Regions from separate parts of the Homo sapiens genome. Here regions 2, 3 and 4 are each linked to region 1. Evidence: promoter capture Hi-C in 16 types of primary human blood cells and fetal thymus (Javierre and others, 2016). All regions are on one chromosome and are shown on one strand. The core of a region is centred on a gene start or on the middle of the fragment in contact, and the rest is flanking DNA. Distances in the headings are between cores, read along the strand shown. Region 1 holds the start of ZNF879 (zinc finger protein 879). Region 2 has its middle 76 kb from the start of RUFY1. Region 3 has its middle 27 kb from the start of CLK4. Region 4 has its middle 10 kb from the start of MSANTD5.

Region 1 (3,347 bases), core at 316-2,815:
AAAATACAAAAATTAGCTGGGTGTGGTGGCACACATGCCTGTAGTCCCAGCTACCAGGGAGGTTGAGGCTGCAGTGAGCCATGTCCGTGCCACTGCACTCCAGCCTGGGTAACAGAGTGAGACCCTGTCTCAAAAAAGGGAAAGAAAAAAAAAAAAAAGCATGAGACAGGCTCTGAGGCAAGGGAAACACCTTCCTTCCAGAGTTTCTCAGCTACCAAGCCCTCTGGTCCTTCCCTGAGCTTCACTGGGTAGAGAAGCTCAACAACAGATGAAGAAGTTTACCACGTCTAGACCCTGAAGGCAGTTCAAGCAAAAAGAAGCCTTCACTCACCTGTACATGGGCTGGCAGCAACCTCCTTGCCATTTCTCCCTCCCTGCTGCCTCTCTTGGAGAAGGCACCTGGAATGGAGAAAAAAGCTGTGAGGTCTTTTCATCCAGCCTGCATGCCCACCCTCATTAGGCCAGACCAGGTTAGAAGCCATAAGCTGAGCACCTGCAGAGAAGGAGCCTGGAACTGCCCAGGCCAGAGGGGCCCTAAGTCCGGCCACTTAAACCAGTGTGGGAAGCAGGTTCAGAGTCACCGGGCCTGCTACCTTTCTGCCAGTGCTTTACGATAAAGACGAAAGGAGCGAAGGGATGAAGACCATCTGCCGTGCCTTAACAGGGTCAAGGGCAGAATCAGGCAAGGCTCATTCAGATAAAGTAATAGGAAATGACACAATATTCCACACATCTGCACTTGGATGTTGTTCAATACGAAAAACAGCAGTTGAAGAACTGATGCTCTTTTTTAGGAACAGCCAACCAAAAATTAGTCCTCTTTTCTTCCTCTTGTAAGATTTACTTCCTTTATCAAAAACAGTTATCAAAGCTGCTTAAAGGTAGCGTTACCCATTCTCCCTGGCCCCAAAAAAACAAGGGCGCAAGAAAACAGCATCACTAGCTAGAAATTGATTTAAAATTTAGAGAAATGGGAAGAAACGTAGCAAGTGGACATGGTTACGGTAAATAAAAAAAGAAATAGTTAAATCACTCTAGGACTGGCTGTAGGAAAACACTGCCAAACGTGCAAGACTGCCAAAAACGAGTAAATCTAAAGTTTAAACTCCGGGAAACGGAGTAGGGGGAGGCTTAAACCCACAAACACTAAGAGCGAAAAACCGCCCGGAGGGCTCCGGACCCTGAACCGAGGCGGCATTTTGCAGTTTCTGTTCTGGAGCCGTTTCCCCCGGAGTCCGGCCCAGGCTGCGGCCCAGGAGTCCAGCGGCGTCGAAGCGCCCTCCCGGCCTCCGCCAGGCCCTTCCCAGGCCACGCCCCCTCCGGGGCCGGGTTCACCTGCCGAGGCCGCCCCGGCTCGGACGCCCGGAGCCGGGGACTCGGCAGACACGCGCAGAGGCCAGCCCTCGTCCTGGTCCCGCCGCGGCAGCCGCACGCCCCGGGCCCGCCCTCACCGGCAGCCTGTACCTGGGCCCGCCTCGGCGGGGGGCGCGCAGCTCCACACCGCACAAGAGGCGAGCGGAACACCTAATTCAGAGACGTTTCCCGTCGCTGCCGGGCGCAACTGCGCCTGCGCGCCGGAGAGCCGACGGGTTTCCCTGGCTGAACCGCAGCGTTTGTCCCTCCGGACTTCATTTCCCAGACGTCGCTGCGGCACCACCACTTACGGTGTCCGAGAGAGAACCACAGCGCCGAGAGCGGAGAACGCGGTCGGGCTGTGGAGTTCGAGAAGGCTGAAGCCGAGTCCCTCAGCTTGGGCTCCAACTACTCTCCCTCCGCTAAACCACCCATTGTATTCGTAATTAGAATGACAAAAATAGTAAGACGGAAAAGTGAGTATGAATTTTTAAATCTGGAAGACTAGCCGCTGCTGATTATTCGCAGGTGGTGACAGAACTATTACAGTCCATTCTGCGATTTTAATTAAAAATGAATTATGTCTAAATTTTATAATCTCGGCCGGGCGCGGTGGCTTATGCCTGTAATCGCAGCACTTTGGGAGGCCGAGGTGGGCGGATCACAAGGTCAGGAGACCGAGACCATCTTGGCCAACATGGTGCAACCCTGTCTCTACGAAAACACGAAAAATTAGTCGGGCGTGGTGGCACATGCCTGTAATCCCAGCTATTCGGGAGGCTGAGGCAGGAGAATCGCTTGAACCTGGGAGGCGAAGGTTGCGGTGAGCTCAGATCGCGCCATTGCACTCCAGCCTGGGTGACAGAGCAAGACTCTGTCTCAAATAAATAAATAAATAAATAAATAAATTTTTGTAATCTTTACATATTTACTGGCACTCAGAGTAAAACAAAAGCATAAGCCTAGTATTTCCCTCTTCATGGCACTCACTTCTTTTGAAGTGACTTCTTTAAAACGTAAAATAAAGCCCAACTCCCAGCGCTATCATCACAACTGCATCCTCGGTGACCGGCACTGTACACGCCAAATACTATGTGCTCAGAAAGTGTTGATTTTTAAAATATCAAACATTAGCGTTTACAGAGACAAACCTAAACACAAAGGGTACTTGAAGATAGAAAATGCAGAGAGGGACTAAGAGATATCAGGTAGATAATATGAAAAAGAAATCTTGGATCACGATGTTACAACAATACAAAGATTATTGCAATGTAAAAATAATTAAATCGAACAAAATGGATGTTTTATATTGTTAAAAGATAATAATGCACATCACTAATCATTAGGGGAATGCAGATCAAAGCAGATCAAACATCCACTGCGATTTCACACTCATTAGGTTGGCTATTATAAAATTTGGAAAAAAAAGAAAACCAGAAAACAATCCTTGTGCCTTAATGGTGGGAATGTAAAATGGTAGCGCTGCGCTGGAAAACGGTATGGCAGTTCCTCAAAAAAAAATTAAATGTAGAATTAACACATGGGCAATTCCATTTCTGGACCATATGTTATTTCTATATTTAATTATTATTTTAAAATAATAATAATAAAGATATGACAGTTATAGACCATTATTGACAAAACAACATAGCATTGAGATTTACAAAGTAAAAGGTGCCAGACTGAGTACCCATGATTACCTCCCTTTTTCTCTTCATATTCTTCAAAGTAACCCCAAACACATATAATTTTCAAAGGAGCAAATCTAATGCAACTCTAGAAAAATACCATCAGAACACCAGAAATTGAGGAAACATTTGGAAGACATGCAGGAGACAAGTGCTCTGATACCCAAAATCTAATAAAAAGATTCAGAAGAAAGCAGAGAAAATGGGGAGGGGGAATAATAACAGATTGATTACATACAGAAATAGTGATAGAGATATAGCAGAAAACACATTCAAGCTGAGGAAGCCCTGAGTCTTCAGAGTAAA
Region 2 (3,347 bases), core at 222-2,721, 450 kb before region 1:
GCCAAGATTGTGCCACTGCACTCCAGCCTCGGCAACAGTTTTTAAAAAGCCAGTTTTTAAAAGATTCAATGGCTTATTCATCCCCTAGAGGTAGATGTACACTTCATAACGGAGTGTCTGAAATTAAGAGTGGTCCTGATTTATAGGATTTCCTAATCAAAATGTCTGCTGAATCAATTTGGGTTTTATCTTGGAAGAAAAAAGATTTTTTTTTTTTGCCTGTTTGTCATTTGTCTTGTTGTTTGTCATTTGTGAGACCTTGTCTGAAAACAAAAAAAGGAAAAAGATTGTGACTGCTTCTGAGAAAGCTCCTGGTGTGGCTAGAGTGGCCTTGTGGGAAAAGAACAAATTCTGTAAAGAAGAAAGCAAGAAAAAGCAAGTACTTCTCCCCACACATCCCCTCGCCCGTTTGCGTCCTCTGGAGACTCCAGGCAGTAGCGGAGCACAAACAGGGCTCTTCTCGGCGTGAGACAGAAAAGACACCGCGGTGAGTTAGCTTTCCCAGGAACTGCACGGCCTCCCACCTACAGCCAACCCTGATCTTGAACCGCGACTGGCAGGGTTGAGTCCTTTACAAGCGCACACTCAAATTCAACTCTCAAATTCCCCTTCAAAACTGTCCAGGTCCCTCCAGTCCCCTAAATGGAGTTGACATCTCCCACCTTCTCCAGCCATAAACCGGTGGGAGAAAGGGTCGGCCCCAACCCACCCACGGCCAAGCTTTTACATTTTCTCCCCGACCCCGTAACACCACCTTCACTAAGTTCCTCCACCGAAAATCACAACGAAATGTATGCGTGTCCTCAGTTTTTAGTATTGTTATAGCCCTCAAGATTCCCAACCCTCGGAGCCCTGTCTTTAAAGAATCCAACCTCACGATGCCCCCAAGGGCTAAGACAGGCTCACGGTGATGCCAGCGGCTGCCCCCGCTCTCCCCGTCTATCCCCGGTCTTTGGCCCCGACGGCCACCAGTGCGTTCCTTCCCTGCAGCCCACACCACTTCTCCCACCCAGAGGTGGGGTCTATTTCCTATTCCTTAAATCTGGGCTGACCTTGTGACTTTCTATGACCAAAGGAATGCAGAAGTGACATTTCCTGACGTTGGAATCCAGGCCTTAAGAGGACTGGCAGCTTCTGTTTCCTCCCTCTTGAAAGCCAGCTGCTATGTAAGAAGGCTGACTTCCCTGAGACCACCACGCTGTGAGGAGGCCCCAGCCGAGGTGACGTGGCTATGCAGACGAGCACAAAGGCACTCGACAAGTGAGTGAAGGCTTGGTGGACCATCCAGCTCAGCCAAGCTGCCGGCCAAATGTAGCCGAGTGAGTAAGCCCAGCTGGTAGCAAGTAGAGCAAGAGCCACCCAGCTGTGCCCACTCGACCCGCAGAATCCTGAGGAATAATAAATTATGTCGCTTTAAGCCATTAGGTTTTGAGGTAGTTTGTCATGCAGTAATAGATAAAGATAGCTTTTACTTTCCTAAGAAAGAGACCAAGGACTACAAAGAAAAAATGGGCAAAAGAAAGAAATAGTTCATACAGAATGAAATGCAAATGATCCTTAAACATCAAGAGATGCTCAACCCCAGTTGTAATAAGAGAAATGCAAATTAAATTGCCCTTAGACATCATTTTGCGCAATTCAATTTGGCAAAAATCCAAAATTGTAAAATACATCGTTGGTGTGGCTGTGAGGAAACAGGTTTGGTTGTGGAGAATACAAAATTGTACAAACCTTATGGAGAGCAGTTTGGCATTGCTTATAAAAAATACAAATGTATTGGCCGGGCGCGATGGCTCATGCCTGTAATCCCAGCACTTTGGGAGGCCGAGGCGGGTGGATCACGAGGTCAGGAGATCGAGACCATCCTCGCTAACACAGTGAAACCCCGTCTCAACTAAAAATACAAAAAATTAGCCAGGCATGGTGGCGGGCACCTGTATTCCTAGCTACTCAGGAGGGTGAGGCAGGAGAATGGCGTGAACCCGGGAAGCGGAGCTTGCAGTGAGCTGAGATGGTGCCACTGCACTCCAGCCTGGGCGACAGAGCAAGACTCCGTCTCAAAAAAAACAAAAAACAAACAAACAAACAAAAAAATGTATTTATCCTTTGACCCAGCAATCCTACCTCTGAAAATCTATTCTACAGACAGATATTCACGAGTATAAAATGACCCATGAACGAGGTTATACACTACAGCACTGTTTGTAATGGTAAAAGCTTGGAAACAAGCCAAGGGCCTGCCCATGGGGAGCTGGCTGAATAAACATGAAACACAACTGGAAGAAAGAATAAGGAGCTACTTCAGGATATAGTAAGAAAAAAAAGAAGGTGCAAGATACTGTATCAATGATGTTACCTTTCTGTAAGAAAAGAGTGGAAAATAGGAATAAATATATTTGCATTTCCTTGTTGTAGTTGTATAAAGAAATACAGAAAAATAAACAGAAAATGAATAAAAATGGTTATGTGAGTGTGAGAGAGACAATTGTGGGGAAGATGAAGATGGGAGTTAGAATTTTTTTTGTATAGTTTTATACCCCATTTTAATTTTTAATTTTTTAGAGACACAGTCTTGCACTCTTGCCCAGGCTGGAGGTGCAATGGTGTGATCATGGCTCACTGCAGCCTCGAACTTCTGGGCTTAAGCAGTCCTCTTGCCTCAGCCTCTCGAGTAGCTGGGAATACAGGCACACACCACTATGCCCGGCTAAATACAGGCACACGGCACTATGCCTGGCTAAGTTTAATTAAAAATTGTAGAGATGGGGCTTCGCTATGTTGCCTAAGCTGGTCTTGAACTCTTGGCCTCAAGTGATCCTCCTGCCTTGATCTCCCAAAGTGTTGAGGTTATACGTGTGAGCCACCGTGCCCAGCCTATACTTATTTTATGCCTCATCATGTCATTTTGACTTTTGAACCATGCAAACATGCAACAAATTAAAAGCCAATCTCGGCCCGGCACTGGTGGCTCATGCCTGTAAGCCCAGCACTTTGGGAGGCCGAGGCGGGCAGATCACGAGGTCAAGAGATTGAGACCATCCTGGCCAACATGGTGAAACCCCATCTCTACTAAAAATACAAAAATTATCTGGGCATGGTGATGGGTGCCTGTAGCCCCAGCTACTCGGGAGGCTGAGGCAGGAGAATCGCTTGAACCCGGGAGGCGGAGGTTGCAGTGAGCCGAGATCACGCCACAGCACTCCAGCCTAGGTGACAGTGTGAGACTCTGTCTAATAAAAAAAAAAAAGTCTCAGGTGGAGAATGAAACAGAAGGGAGTGGCTGTTGATGTCGCTGGGATTTCTTTTAAGGATGCTGAAAATGTTCTAAAATTAGATGGTGGTGTTGG
Region 3 (3,347 bases), core at 291-2,790, 370 kb after region 1:
AGCTAATTTTTGTATTTTTAGTAGAGATAGGGTTTCACCCTGTTGGCCAGGCTGGTGTTGAGCTCCTGACCTCAGATGATCCACCCACCTTGGCCTCCCAAAGTGCTGGGATTACAGGTGTGAGCCACTGCACCCGACCAACGGTTCCCAGATTCTTAATCCAACAAGAGTATGACAGGCTTGTAGCTGTTGTCCGTTTCTTCCTGCTCACCTTTCTCATGGAAGGAATTTCAAAAGAAACCACGAGGTGTTTGTATGTGTTTATCTTTTGGAAGAACAGAAGTATGGGAAATGTATAAATTGAAATGGCTTCTAAACTAAATAGTTTTTAAAAAAAAGACAGCTATATTTTAGCATAAGAAACAGTATTAGATTGAAGAGATTCTCTACATAACACTTTGTTTAGTATAAACAGAAATTAATCTGTTCATGGTCCTAAATTGGGCTCAGAGTTTCTCTTAGTGAGAAACCCATCCGTTTATACTTTCCCATATGCCATTTTTGAAAGATTCTACCCTAGTAAACTAAAATTTTACGGTTTATGAATAATACTGTTAAGCTTCCTTTCGGTGAAGAAAGCTACTACTTTAGCTGTAGTAATCAAAACGGTATGGTACTAGCCTAAAAATGGACACCTAGACCAATGGTGCCGAGTAGAGAAGCCAGGAATAATGCTCTTCCCCATACACATGGTCAACTTACCTTCAACAAGGCACCAAGAAAATAAAACAGAGGAAGGATGGTCTCTTCAATAAATGGTGTGGAAAACTGGATATCCACAGGCAAAAGAATGAGACTGAACTCCTTTCTTACATCATACACAAAAATCAACTAAAAATGTATGAAGGATTTAAACGTAAGACCTGAAACTGTAAAACTTCTAGAAGAAAACGTAGAGGAAAAGCTCCTTGACATTGGTCTTGGTGATAATTGTTTGGACATGACAACAAAAGCACAGACAACAAAAGTAAAAATAAACAAGTGGGATTATATCAAACTAAAAGGTCTGCAGAGCAAAGGAAACAATTGAAAAGAAAACCTACAGAATGGGAGAAACTGTCTGCAACCCACATACCTGATAAAAGGTTAACAACCACAATATACAAGGAACTCAAACAGTTCACTAGCAAAGAAACCTCCAAATAACCCAATTTAAAAATGGGTACTGGCTGGGTGTGGTGGCTCACGTCTGTAATCCCAGGGCTTTGGGAGGTCGAGGCGGGCAGATTACTTGAGGTCAGGAGATTGAGACCAGCCTGGCCAACATGGTGAAAGCCTGTCTCTACTAAAAACACAAAAATTAGCTGGGCGTGGTGGCGCATGCCTGTAACCCCAGCTACTTGGGAGGCTGAGGCAGGAGAATCGCTGGAACCTGGGAGGTGCAGGTTGCAGTGAGCCGAGATTGCGCCATTGCACTCCAGCCTGGGTAACAGGAGCAAGACTCCGTCTCAAAAAAAAAAAAAAATCATAATCAGAGATCACCTCATTGGGAGGATGGCTATTATATTAAAAACGAAATGGCCGGGCGCAGTGGCTCACGCCTGTAATCTCGGAACTTTGGGAGGCCGAGGTGGACGGATCACCTGAGGTCAGGAGTTCGAGACCAGCCTGACCAACATGGAGAAACCCTGTCTCTACTGAAAATACAAATTAGCCAGGCATGGTGGTGCATGCCTGTAATCCCAGCTACTCAGGAGGCTGAGGCAGGAGAATCGCTTGAACCCGGGAGGTGGAGGTCGTCGTGAGCCGAGATTGCACCATTGCACTCCAGCCTGGGCAACAAGGGCAAAACTCTGTCTCAAAAAAAAAAGAAAAGATAAGTGTTGGCGAATATGTGGGAAAACAGAAACTCTGATACATTATTGGCGTGAATGTAAATTGGTACAGCTATTATGGAAAACGGTGTGGAGGTTACTCAAACAATTAAAAATAGAACGATCATATGATCCAGCAATCCTAATTTTGGGTATTTATCCAAAGGAACTGAAATCAGGATCTCAAAGAGACACTGCCCTCCCATGCTCGCTGCAGTGTTATTCACAATAGCCAAGATATGGAAACAACCGACATGTCCATCGACGGAGGAATGGATGAAGAAGCATGGTATGTATATGCAATGGAATGGGGTTCAGTCATAAAAACAGAAGTGACATTCTGCCACTTGTGACAATTTGGCTGAGCCTGGAGGACATCATGCTAACCGAAATAGGCCACATACAGAAAGACAAATACTGCCTGGTTTCAGTGTGATGAGGAACTTGAAATGGTCGAACTCATAGAAGTAGAGAGCAGGACGGTGGTTGCCAAGGGCTGGAGGAGGAGAAATGGAAAGTGATGGTCAAAGGTACAAAATTTTAGTTATGCAAGATAAATAAATTCTAGAGACCTACTACAGCATAGTGCCTATAGCTAACAATACTGTCTTGGATACTTAAAATTCGCTAAGAGGGCAGATCTTCTATTAAGTGCTCTTACCACAAAATAATAATGATAATAAAAAAGGGGGTGGGAGGAAGCTTGGGAAAGTGATGGGCATGTCTATGGCCTTGGTGGTGGTGATGGTTTCACAGGGGTATACTTATGCCTAAATTCATCGAGTTGGATACATTAAATATGTACAGCTCTTTATATGTCAATCATACCTCAATAAAGTGGTCTTAAAGGAACAAATACTTTTTATACTCCGTCTTTAAAATAATAAAAGGGAAAGTCTTATTCTTTTCATAATTATATGGCTCTTGGGAAAGATACAGTAAGCAGGTGTACCCTGCATGGCTGAGAAACTGAGTGGAAGTGTGATTTACTTTTATTTATTTATTTTTTCTAAGATGGAGTCTCACTCTGTTGCCCAGGGTGGAGTGCAGTGGTACAATCTTGGCTCACTGCAACCTCCGCCTTCCGGGTTCAAGCGATTCTCTTGCCTCAGCCTCCCGAGTAGCTAGGATTACAGGCGCATACCACCACGCCTGGCTAGTTTTTTGTATTTGTAGCAGAGACGGGGTTTCACCATGTTGGACAGGCTGCTCTCAAACTCCTGACCTCAAGTGATCCACCCACCTCAGCCTCCCAAAGTGATGGGATTATAGGTGTGAGCCACCCACCTCAGCCTCCCAAAGTGCTAGGATTACAGGCGTGAGCCACCGCCCGGCTGGAAGTGTGATTTATGTGTTTGATTTACTTCCATTGTTCTGTAACCCATTCATTCACTCATGTCTTGCACCCACTTTCATAACATGAGTTTAATAATTTGTAGCAATTGTCCTAAGGCTGAGTATTGGCTTCTATAGAACTCGTTTCCTTTAAGTACCTTGAAAAAGAATAGATGGAATTTGTAAGGCTTTTATGAC
Region 4 (3,347 bases), core at 287-2,786, 320 kb after region 1:
CTAGTGAGCAGGAAAATGACAAATGTTAAAGCTCGAGTAGAAGGCAGAAGCCAAATCACAAAAGGCCTTATTTGCCAAGCTAAGGAGTTTGGATTTTATGGTAAAATCGGTGGAGTCAAAGATGGTAAGCAAGGGAAATTCCATAGAAGATAAGCGTATGGGGTTGAAGAAAGCTGATGACTGATGCCACCCAGGAAATCTGGGCTGTTTAAATTCAAGTAATAGGTAAATGAGGGTTCCAACTCAAACAGGGACAGCATTGATGGAGAACAGGAGACAGATAATCATGTATTAGAATAAATAAGGCATGGTTTTCATAGGCAAATAGGTGAGAGTGGCAAGTGAGGAGAAAGCTGACTCACAGGTAGGGTTGCCAAACGTCCTGTATTTAATGATTTTGTCCTGAATCCTGTATTAACTTTGTTAGGATGCCTTAAATGTATTCAGGGTTTCTCCCCTCATTAATGAAAAATCAGCACTTTGAGCTACGGTTCTGCTTCAGTAATTGGCGCTTAAATCGCTTAAGTGGCAATACAAGTTGGAAATCATACCTCCACAAATAAAGATCTGAACCATCTCTTATGTTTTATCCTATGTGTTTGACTGAGGGAAGGCAAAAGGGGGAAGTGAGAATAAAAGTACTTGTTTTCCGTATTAAAGAAAGGAAAAGACTGTTCTTTTGGCCAAATTCCTAAGTTGTAAAATAATCCCCAATAATTAGATCTTTGGATCAGTACACGTGGTCTGAAAAATCAATGATGGCCTCGCTGCCAGCAGCCATGCTTCTGAAATCAACTTCCTGACAGCCTCCAGCTTCTGAATGCCACTTGAGTGCTGCTTCTAGACCACGGTTGGTCAGCAAGTCCCTCCTTCCAGTGACCGTGCTTCTGGAAGTTAGCCAGTCGACAACCGTCTAATTCCAGTGACCACACTAACACGCTTGAAAATCTAACAGTCCATAAACATCCCTGCCTCTGAAAATTCGCCAGTCCCAGACACTGAGCTGCTTAAAATTTTGGATAAGATCAGCTCTGGCTTTCTTCAGGGATCCTGTTACTGCAAACACAGTTCTCCCTTGCAGGCATGCATCAAGTTCGACTTTTCTGTGTCACATATCAAGTTCAAGTTTATTGTTAGTTTGTAAGCTTCCAACCTTTCAATAGCTCAGCCTCAATTTATTGGTAATTATGCTTCACTCTTGTGAGTGAGATGATCGAAATTAGTATTTTCAATTATTGTTATTAACTTATTTTTTATTTTATATTTTGTGTTAAGGATACTTAATATGAGATCTACCCTATTGCCTATTTTCATTTATGTATATTTGAATCAAAATGCAAGTATAAGTTTCATGATTAATTTTTAAAATATTTGGTATCAGAGAAAAGATGTTTTGAAGCTCTTTCTACAGTACACAATTGTTCATTCAGTATTGAACATATTGGAAAGTCAGATATAAGGCAGGATATACTAACAGCTAAGCCTAAGTGATAGATGATTTCCTCAAATAGTGCTAAAGAAACGGATAAAGTAACAAATTTTCCGATGAAAGGAAATTCAGATAAAAATAAAACAACCATAGCAGAAATTGTAATGACTTTCCACACTCAATCTTTTCAGCTCAAATGACCAATGGAAACACACCAAAAGTATTTCCTGCTTCCAAAATTGCAAACGAATTTTCAAGTGCCAGGATAAAATCTGCAGTAATAAAAATGTAATCTTTCTGTTTACTATTAGAGACTATATAAAAGATCTAAAATGTCTCTTTTTACAGTATAACCCCAGATGCAAATAATCACAATGAGAATTTTTTTTTTTTTTTTTTTTTTTTTTTTTTTGCCTCTGCAATGTTTTTCTTTTGAAAACCTGTGCTTATAAAGCTATCTTATCCCTTCTAGATGAGACCTGGGAAATTGAAGCTTTTTGCAGAAACTAAATTGAGTTAATAAGTCAAATTGTATTCCTTTGGTTGATATAATACAAATACAAATTTATGTAGATGTGTAGAAGTGCAAACAATTTTTTTTTTTTTTTTTGAGACGGGGTCTCGCATTGTCGCCTGGCCTGGAGTGTAATGGTAAGATCTCGGCTCACTGCAACCTCCGCCTCCCGGGTTCAAGCGATTTTCATGCCTCAGCCACCCAAGTAGCTGGGATTACAGGCACCTGCCACCATGCCCGGCTAATTTTTTTTTTTTTTTTTTTTTTTTTTTTGTATTTTTAGTGGAGATGGGGTTTCACCATGTTGGCCAGACTGGTCTCGAACTCCTGACCTCATGATCCACCCGCCTCAGCCTCCCAAAGTGCTGGGATTACAGGAGTGAGCCACCGCGCCCCGCCAGAAGTGCAAACAATTGTTATTCAAAATTAAAGCAAAGCCTGAAGTAGGCTGTAGAAGGTGTCCTATCCATATTCTGCGTTTCTGCATGATGCTACACAGACAACCTCTGATAGCCATCCTATTGACACTGAAGTCATCATGAAATTGTTCCCTTCCTCGGCATTTAAACTGTTTAAACTGAGCAGTTAAAGGACTTTTGTGATTCTGTTGTCATTCGATATTCTTCTATTCTTCATTCTTCAATTCTCTCTTTCATTCTCTAGCACTCAGAAATTTGTTGGAACCCCCAGTTTCAACTACAACATGCAAACGGCTTGGAAGTAGTCACCCCTATCCTTATAAGAAAAAGCTAGTCAAGCTGAAAAGCAGTGACTTTTATCTTTCTGAGAACTGAAGTCACAACTGTGAAATCTGGAGAGACGGGTGTATCCAGAGACACAGCTGAGATCTGTTTACTTGGAGCCCACTGGAGCCAAAACTGGTCGGAAAACTAACAGGTAATTTTGATGAATTGCTGGAGGTTGAATATGGACTAAACTGAGAATGTGGAACTTCTGGGTCCATAGTCATAACGGGTCCCGCATACCGCCACTGCCATTAGCTCCAGGAATCCCAGCAGATTCCCAAGGTCATGATCTGAGAAATATCCCCTGAGGGCTGTGGCAGAAGAAGGGGAATCATTGTGAAATACACCCAGAGTCTTCTCCATAAAAGCCGACACTCTAGGGAAAAAAAGCTTGCCAGAGTCTTATGCTAGCTGGAGGAAGGACATTCCCCATTCTCTCTATCCTTCCTGTCTCACCTAAGGGAGAGGAAACTGTCAACATGGCTCAACACTTTGAGGATTCCAGTAGATTGGAATCCTGCAAGCAGGAGAGGGAGGGCAGGGCAAGGAGGCAAAGTTATACCACTGGAGAACACTTGAGTAGGTCCCAGCCCTTGGACACACGAGTACTGACAGATTTAACTGGAAGATTATAGAATGCACCCCCTCTGCCACCATC

Evidence for each region. Contacts are between HindIII fragments. The CHiCAGO score rates a contact against its expected background, and 5 or more counts as called.
Region 2: a fragment that was not itself captured here is called in contact with the fragment with the promoter of ZNF879 in region 1 in 1 of 17 cell types (endothelial precursors); the score reaches 5.3 in endothelial precursors.
Region 3: a fragment that was not itself captured here is called in contact with the fragment with the promoter of ZNF879 in region 1 in 1 of 17 cell types (erythroblasts); the score reaches 6.8 in erythroblasts.
Region 4: a fragment that was not itself captured here is called in contact with the fragment with the promoter of ZNF879 in region 1 in 4 of 17 cell types (monocytes, naive CD8 T cells, total CD4 T cells and 1 more); the score reaches 6.4 in monocytes.

The regions. Positions count from the first base shown.
Region 1 is chr5:179,022,022-179,025,368 of GRCh38, reverse strand. It overlaps ZNF879 (zinc finger protein 879), which reads right to left and starts at 1,565. Exons shown (of 5, transcript NM_001136116.3): 1 at 1,465-1,565; 2 at 332-399. The coding sequence starts at 364. RefSeq lists an enhancer at 1,436-1,937. The HindIII fragment of the contact is 13,349 bases long and covers 1-3,347 here.
Region 2 is chr5:179,473,289-179,476,635 of GRCh38, reverse strand. No RefSeq gene overlaps it. Among named protein-coding and RNA genes, the nearest start is that of RUFY1, 76 kb to the left of the region's middle. RefSeq lists an enhancer at 3,251-3,347. The HindIII fragment of the contact is 1,497 bases long and covers 723-2,219 here.
Region 3 is chr5:178,651,881-178,655,227 of GRCh38, reverse strand. No RefSeq gene overlaps it. Among named protein-coding and RNA genes, the nearest start is that of CLK4, 27 kb to the right of the region's middle. The HindIII fragment of the contact is 1,957 bases long and covers 562-2,518 here.
Region 4 is chr5:178,706,432-178,709,778 of GRCh38, reverse strand. It overlaps a transcript of MSANTD5 not described here. Among named protein-coding and RNA genes, the nearest start is that of MSANTD5, 10 kb to the right of the region's middle. The HindIII fragment of the contact is 777 bases long and covers 1,148-1,924 here.